Regions from separate parts of the Homo sapiens genome. Here all the other regions are linked to region 2. Evidence: promoter capture Hi-C in 16 types of primary human blood cells and fetal thymus (Javierre and others, 2016). All regions are on one chromosome and are shown on one strand. The core of a region is centred on a gene start or on the middle of the fragment in contact, and the rest is flanking DNA. Distances in the headings are between cores, read along the strand shown. Region 1 overlaps GLIS3 (GLIS family zinc finger 3). Region 2 holds the start of PUM3 (pumilio RNA binding family member 3). Region 3 has its middle 35 kb from the start of GLIS3.

Evidence for each region. The method cuts DNA at HindIII sites, captures the fragments that hold promoters and counts their contacts. A CHiCAGO score of 5 or more calls a contact.
Region 1: a contact is called between a fragment that was not itself captured here and the fragment with the promoter of PUM3 in region 2, in 7 of 17 cell types (naive CD4 T cells, monocytes, activated CD4 T cells and 4 more). The highest score is 10.9, in naive CD4 T cells.
Region 3: a fragment that was not itself captured here is called in contact with the fragment with the promoter of PUM3 in region 2 in 1 of 17 cell types (total CD8 T cells); the score reaches 5.4 in total CD8 T cells.

What each region holds. Positions count from the first base shown.
Region 1 is chr9:4,293,422-4,296,199 of GRCh38, forward strand. All of the region lies in intron 1 of GLIS3 (GLIS family zinc finger 3), which reads right to left. Among named protein-coding and RNA genes, the nearest start is that of GLIS3-AS2, 4.5 kb to the right of the region's middle. The HindIII fragment of the contact is 4,620 bases long and covers 1-2,778 here.
Region 2 is chr9:2,842,739-2,845,438 of GRCh38, forward strand. It overlaps PUM3 (pumilio RNA binding family member 3), which reads right to left and starts at 1,357. Exons shown (of 18, transcript NM_014878.5): 1 at 1,307-1,357. RefSeq lists enhancers at 386-947, 1,331-1,625, 1,449-1,688. The HindIII fragment of the contact is 3,665 bases long and covers 1-2,700 here.
Region 3 is chr9:4,333,602-4,336,301 of GRCh38, forward strand. It overlaps a transcript of GLIS3 not described here. Among named protein-coding and RNA genes, the nearest start is that of GLIS3, 35 kb to the left of the region's middle. The HindIII fragment of the contact is 5,205 bases long and covers 1-2,700 here.

The sequences.
Region 1 (2,778 bases), core at 247-2,746, 1.5 Mb after region 2:
TCACTGACATCACTGCGGAAGTATGAACATCCACAACAATGACTAGGCCCTTAACCAACATGACAACATATTTATTAAAAAGATTTTTTGAAAACCTCTGTGAATGACTCAGCCAAGTTACAGACAGAAGTGGAATCTATCGGTCATGCTGAAAAGGTTGGGAAAACATTAATCCATTTCTTCACACACAAGAATAACAAAACTTCGTAACTAGCCCTGGCATCTGGTTGGTTTTCTGTGTACAATATTCAGCAGGCCTACAAAAGAAATTTGATGGAGCTGGCTTAGAACTTTAGAAATCACTGGTATTCAGAAAGTCTGATCTCTTTATCATGGAGCATAGGACAGGATCTGATCTTGCATTGTGACGCTATCTGCCCATCTGCAGTTGAGCAAGTCTTGCTGCTCCTGAAGGAATGTGCAGTCATTCTTGTTCCTGGCTTTGAAGAGATCATGTCAGACAAGGGTGGCCCCACCAGCTTTCCTTGACTCAAGTCTGCCCTCAGCTACTGAGAACCTCATAATTCAAGTTTTACAAATTCCTTTTCTTCCCAAAGTGGAACATGATTGGATCTTTGTTTCTGTTAATTCTACAAACCGCCTTAGAGTCCAGCTCGATGGTCTTTTCCCTCCTCCTTTATTTTGTTCTCTTTTCCCCCAAATCCAGATCCTACTTATCCTCTAAGCCCACCCCAAACACCCACTTTAGGCCCTCCTTGATCCTTTTTTAGTCTCTATAAATCTGACCTGTAAAAATGGGGATAATGATGCTACTGTGCATAGTTCATAATATTACAGAATAATGGGCCAGGTGCGGTGGCTCACGCCTGTAATCCCAGTACTTTGGGAGGCCAAGGTGGGTGGATCACCTGAGGTCAGGAGTTCGAGACCAGTCTGACTAACACAGTGAAACCCCCATCTCTACTAAAAATACAAAATTAGCCAGGCATGGTGGCACATGCCTGTAATCCCAACTACTTGGGAGGCTGAGGCAGGAGAATCACTTGAACCCAGGAGGGGGAGGTTGCAGTAAGCCAAGATCACACCATTGCTTTCCAGCCTGGGCAGCAAGAGCGAAATTATGTCTCAAAAAAAAAAAAAATTACAGAATAATAAATGAGAATCCACATCACATGCTTAGCACACTGTTCAGCACACAAAAGGACCCAATAAATGTTATTTTACTCTACACACCTCTCTTTCAACATTCATAACTTTCTACACTACATTACAGTTATTTGCCTGTGTTTCACTTTCCTGTCTAAATTCTAATTTTATTAAGTTTTGGGGTCATAGCTAATTTATCTTTGAACTTTCCCCAGCCCTTACATGTACACAGATTGTTTTACACCTATATATATTTTTCACAGTACATTTATCATATAGTTATGCTACATCTATATATTCACATACATTTATTCTATTTATATTGTTCATTCTGTACTGCTCATACTGAAAAACATGGTGTAAGTGAAATATACAATTATAACCCACATCTATAATTTACTGCCTGAATAAATACAATATAAGTGAGGTGTGACCATAATCATGAATCCCATGGCTTATGGAACCAGTTTAATTACAGTTGCATGTTTCCTAGTCTTTTCCTTTCTCTACTAGGAAAAAGTGGCACAGAAATTCTATTCCATTCTTCTGGGTAGGCATGTTATTCTTGCCTTTATCTTGGCCTACTGGTGAACAATGAAAAATCCCAGCTAAAAGTTGCAAATGAACAGTTCAATACTGAAACCAGGCACTTACTTTTTTTTTTATTATGGGGGTTGCTGGCCCTCACGAAAGGACGGTGAAATACACTCTGGGTTGCCTTAGTGGAAGGAACGCCTCTGAATTTTCCTGCTTCCTACACTGGTGTCACATTAGACATTTCACTTGTGTCTGTTTGGTCTCCCTAACCAGACTGTCATCAGAATATAAATATGGCTTCAGTTTGGTTAGTGTTTTTCCTTAATTCTATCATATTAAGTAATGCCTCACTAATTTCTGCAAGCCAGACTGTTTCCATCATCTTTAAAGGGGGAGTCCAAATTATTTGACCTAATAAAAGGTTGTTGTGTTGAGCGAAAGAAGCCAGACCCAAGAGTGCATATTGAATTATTCCATTTACACAAGATTTTTTTTAAAAAAACCAGACAAAACTAATATATCTGTTAGAAACCAGGGCAACGGTTACCTTAGGCAGAGGTGGTAACTAGAATGGAGTGTGAGAGATGTTTCTGGTGTGTTGATAATGCTCTGTTTCTTGATCTGGAGACTAGTTATGTGGGTGTGTTCCACTTGCAAAAAAATGCATCGAGCTCAAGATAAGTGTGCTTTTCCGTAAGGATATTTCATCTCAATAGAAAATTTGGCTTTTGTGTCAACTCTGCCTAAAGTAAGTGGGAAACTACAAAAACTGGGGACTTGGACATCTTTTAATCAAACTATGTATCAATGTCATTTCAAAGGTTTTGTTATGTGTCATCTTCCTTGAATGAGAATGGCAACAAGTTTTTTTTTTATCACACAGATTTCCTATGTGCCTTTTTTCCCCAGTCCTGATAGTCTATGAACCAACCAAACTTAGGGAAAAGTAAAACAGTTAAGTCCTGTATTTCCACCTTATTTACAATATAATGCCCTCTACAGAAAATAATCACAGAAACACAGAAAATGACTTCTCCAGAGATGAGAAATGTGCATGTGACGCCACTCTGAGTTATCTCCTTCAAGAAGTATGTATTCTATAATCTGGGAGAAGAGTAAATTAACACTCCAACT
Region 2 (2,700 bases), core at 107-2,606:
ATCTGATACCTCTAATTATGTGTCTAACAGGAACCTTACCCTTAATATGTCCAAAACATAATTCTCTATGTTGTTCTTTATGTTATTGTTGTTTGCCCCACAAACAACAATATACTATTTTTCCCTGCCCTATCGTCCTCCATCTCAGCCAATGGCACATCATCTACTTTACTGCTCAAGTAAGAAATCTGAGTTACCCTTGACATTTTCCTCTCTACTCTGCCACGCTGAACCATAAGTTAGTTCTCTTAAATGTCCCTTACGTCACCACCCTAATGCAAACTATTACCAATACAATCTCTTGAGCTTCCAAATGTAATACATTTTCTAAAGAGAACCAGGGCCTATTCATGATTCTCACTTGCTTACAAGTCTTCAATGTTTTCTACACATGGTAATAGGAACGGAAATGTTTTCCTATTGTACAGAAAAAAAAATTCCCCATCATGACCTTCAAGGCCCTACAGAACCTAGTTCCACTCTATCCGGCTAACTTTATCTTGTACTCTAACTATACTCCTTCCTAGCTCCCATCTCAGGAACTTAGCCCATTATCGCCTCTGCTTGAAGTACTCCCTGAGCTTCCAAATCTCCGTTTAAAGATCACTTCTTCAGACTCCACTATCTGCCAACTCAGCATCCAGTTCGTTTCCTCCCAGCACTTAGAATCTGCGTACATTCAGGCAAACCGCCTAGCACTGGAGTTGGGGTTTGTGAAGTAGCACAGACAGGCTGATCAGGCCGAGCACGGGCTGGGATTCCGGAGTGAAGCTAGTCCACTCTAACCCGGCACGCAGGGCAACGTGGTGGGAGAGAGGTCGGAGTCCCGCCCTTCTTTTTTTTTTTTTTTTTTTTTTTGAGACGGAGTCTTGCTCTGTCTCCCAGGCTGGAGTGTAGTGGCACGATCTTGGCTCACTGCAAGCTCCGCCTCCCGGGTTCACGCCATTCTCCTGCCTCAGCCTCCCAAGTAGCTGGGACCACAGGCGCCCGCCACCATGCCCGGCTAATTTTTTGTAGTTTTAGTAGAGACGGGGTTTCACCGTGTTAGCCAGGATGGTCTCGATCTCCTGACCTTGTGATCCGCCCGCCTCGGCCTCCCAAAGTGCTGGGATTACAGGCGTGAGCCACCGCGCCCGGCCAGTCCCGCCCTTCTTGCCAGGCTCCAGTCAGTCCCAAACTCCTAGCCCAGAAAGAGGCCAGAGGAGACTGCCCAGTGGACAACAGCCCCGAGAGACCTTCCCGACTTCCAGCGCCCGGCAGGGTGCGAACCCCTCCCAAGAGCGACCGCTGAGCCTGCCACACTCACCGCACACGTGGGACCGAGACAGCTCGCGCAGCGGATCCCGACCGCCTCTCCGCTTCCGCTTCCTTGCCTTGCTCCGCCCCCGGGCCGCTTTTTTTCATCTTCCGCGGCGGATCAGGGACTAAGAGGTGGAGCTTCCCAGAGAATACAAAAATTCGGAATTTCTATTGGTCCGCTGCTGTTATGCCTCCTCTTGAGGCGCGAGGATTTTGGCCCTTGCAAGAATCCGTCGGGCGGAGGACGCGACAACGGCCACGGGAAATGACGTCATTAACCCTGTGGCTTCCGTGCTGGAAAGAGAGGGAGAGCTCTTGCGAGGCAGAACAGGCTGCTGAAGGACAGACCTGGCTGGCGCGGTTAATAAGAGGCCTGCATCCCGTAGCCTGAACAAATATTGAAGTAGCTAAAGTTTCTAAAGTGTGTTAATTTGCATACTTCCTCAGCAGTCCAGCGTGGAGGATAAAAGGGGTATCTTGTGAGTCGATTTGAATTGTAATCCCGTTTTTTTCACTTGCTAGCTGTGTGGCTCTGGGAAAATTACAGTTTTTATGAGCTTTGGCTTCCTGATCAATAAAATAGAAATAATTAAGTGATACGTGCAAAGCGCTTAGCATGGAACGCTCTCAATAAATGTTTGCCATTTTTAGTGTCTGCTCGTGCCTGGAAACTGCTGTTATTCCATTTTATACTTCAGGAAATAAGATTGTGGTTAGGATATATGCCCCATTTTCCAGATGAAGAAACTGACACCACAAACTTGCTCGTGTCAAGCAACAGAATTTTATTCTTTAACTGTTCTAGAGGCAAGAATTCCAAAATCAAGCTGTTGGCAGAGCCCTGCACCTTTTGAAGGCTCTAGGGGAGAATGCTTTGCTTCTTCAGCTTCTAACGGTTCCAGGCGGTCCGTGGCCTCTTGTTGCATGACTCCAATCTCGGCCTGTCTTCTAATGGCCTTCTCCTGTGCCTGTGCCACTTCTCTGTGTGTTTTTAGGACACTGAACATTGAATTTAGAGTCCACGGGGATAATCCAAGATCATCTCATCTGGAGGTCCTTAATCACATCTGCAAAGGCCCTTTTCCCAAATAAGGTCACTTTCACATGTCCTGGGAGTTAGGACATAGACATATCTTTTGGAGACTATTCAACCCACTGCATCTGTAAAGTTGAGGAACTGGCACTTGATCCCTGGTGCCAGACTTCAGATTTTACTGTCTTCCAACTTACTCCGTTTTCTGGCCACTAAGGAGTTAGAGTTGAAACTGGTAATTTAGTAGACTGTATGCTTCTTGATGACAGGGGCCATCATTACTTTCCAGGCACTTATCTCACTATGCAGCACATAGATACTTGATAAGTTCTTGTCGTCTACCTTAACTGTTACTAGTTTACATTTCA
Region 3 (2,700 bases), core at 121-2,620, 1.5 Mb after region 2:
CTATTCAATTTGTTTTAACCCAATGTTTCCCTAACATACTTGGCTATGAGACCCTTTTGTCAAATAATGCTATTAGCTTCCAATGGGATTTTTGTGAAGGGTGGCTCTAGACGTAATTGTGAAGCAATGTGATGCCCCCCCCCACCCCCCGCAACTTCATCTGTTTTGATTCCCCTCACTTCCAGCTGTTACACCTGATTGGAAATATCCTCCCAAGAGAAATTATATTATCATAAAGCTCCAAACAACACTTTACAAAAAGGTGCGATTTCAGGCAACGCCAGGGAAAACCACTTTGCATTGGGAATTTCTTGGATTCCTTAAATCCTACCTGGAATGGTGCCACCTTGTCTGCTCTGATGACCTCTGCAGGAGAGGAAAGGACTAGGGTTCCTGTTAGGAGCTTAAGTGCTTAGAAACAAAAGTGACCTCTTCATGAGGCAGACAATACTCTAGTCTCATAATTCAGAGGGCTTGAATTTGAGTATCAAGACAAACAGTTACAGCAAGTTCTGACTGAGCAGTGAGATCTCATAAAAATTCACCCAAATTTAGGTAATAGGAATTGATTCTACTACAGGTAAAGAAACTGAGTAAAGGGGACAGTGAAAGACCATCTGATAGTGTAAATTCCAGGCAGGTTCTAAATCTGTTTCCCAAGGAGCTTTCTGGATATAACATTCAGTCCTTCTACAAATTACAGAGAGATCACAGAACCTCTCAAAACAAGCAACAATTAAAACGTGGCAGCTACAGAGTATGTGGGTAGACAGAAAAGGTTGGCTGTCAAGGAGCTGGTGGCTGGAGAGGCAAGGAAGCTGGTCAGTGCCCTCTGTCCCCTCCACCCTTCCTGAAACAATTGTAGTGCAAATGCATGTTCATTAATCAGCAAGTCCAAGCTAGGGCAGACTTTTCTGGCTCTGTTTGCAGTGCCAGGGCTCTTGCTCCAGCGTTGTCATGGGGAAGTTATTGTTGTCCTCCTGGCAACAGGTTACCTAGGTGAACGCCAAACAGCCCAACCTGGCCTAGTGAGCACTGGGCCTGTTCAGCCACTGTCCCCATGCTGCTTTGCCTGTCTTCTCCTTATACTCCCTCAATCCACACTACTGCCCTTATGAGTCACAGCATTCATTCTCACACACAAAGGTGCTACAGAAGGCCACTTACAGCGAACCTGGGGCTTGTCCAAGGCCATTTTGTACTCTGACCTTTAAAAGCATGCCCAGCCATGGGCAGTCATGCCTGCTCTCTTCAACCCACAACTACAATAAGAGCAGCTCTCAGAAGAGAAATCATTTCCACCTTTTTTTTTTTTTTTTTTTTTTGAAACGGAGTCTTGCTCTGTCACCCAGGCTGGAGTGCAGTGGTGTGATCTCGGCTCACCGCAAGCTCCACCTCCCGGGTTCATGCCATTCTCCTGCCTCAGCCTCCCGAGTAGCTGGGACTACAGGCGCCCGCCACTATACCTGGCTAATTTTTTGTGTTTTTAGTGGAGACGAGGTTTCACCATGTTAGCCAGGATGGTCTTGATCTCCTGACCTCGTGATCCACCCGCCTTGGCATCCCAAAGTGCTGGGATTACAGGCATGAGCCACCGTACCTGGCCCCATTTCCACTCATTTTTACTGAGCATCTTAGTGCCATAATTGAAACAAATTAGAAGCATAAGAAATAACTCCAGTGACGATCAAAGTCTATACCACAAAGTGAAATGAAGCCCTAAGCCAATTAACCTGTGAAATTGATCAATTAATTGTAGACAGCTAAACCAAATGGTTCAGTTAAAGTAAATCCTCAGTTGCTCGTAAACTTGCCAGATATAGCAAATAAAAAGATCTGGTAATGCTACTCCATAAAGGGCTTCTGCTCTAATCATCTGAATTATCACTTCTGCTCCACGTGCTTTCCTGTGCAAAGCCTTCAAGTGTGAAAAACAGGCAGAATTCAGTGGTTCTGGTGTCTATCTCCCTCACCAGCCCTGGGGATGGCGTTAACCTAGCTTACACCTGGCATCTCACCTGTAGTACCCTAAGTAGCCCGGGGTTAAACAAGGGCACTTTCAACACGGCTTAGGGTTTTAGTTTAAACCTGAAACATCAGGATCTATTTAGACCTCTCTTAGAGGCATCCATCCCTTTCAAGAAGCCTCAGAACACACTTGGCATCCCCTGGGTCCCTTGCCCTACTCTGAATTGCCCCAGGGTCCTTCCCCCATTGAACCAGATTTAACAGGATAAGGTGATTCTTCCCTCATTCCAGCCTTGGTGTTTGTATCCAGTTCCAAGAAATTCAGTTAGTTAATACAGAGCTATGACAACCTAAGGTAAAAATTTGCGGACTTCGGTAAATTTACTTGGTGACAGGTGATGAAGAAGAAAGGGCAGGGAGCAAGCAGTTAGAAAACCTGAGTTTGGAGATGATGTGCTGTGAGATCTTGAGTAAGTCATTACACCTCTGTGGGCCTCCATTTCCCAATCTGTTTGTTACCCATAAGCCACATGGCATGATATTAAAGTAGGGTCACAATAGCAGTAGAAAGCAATAGTTCTCTGGCTCTAGCCCACTGCCAACTCTTCTCCCTGACCTAATCTTGGGAGTCTCCAAAAAGCATCTCATGTGGATTCAAAATCAGTCCTCTCCATGGCCACATGTGATATATGGGTTTCCTCTTCTTTAGCTCTGAATACTTTCAGAGATCTC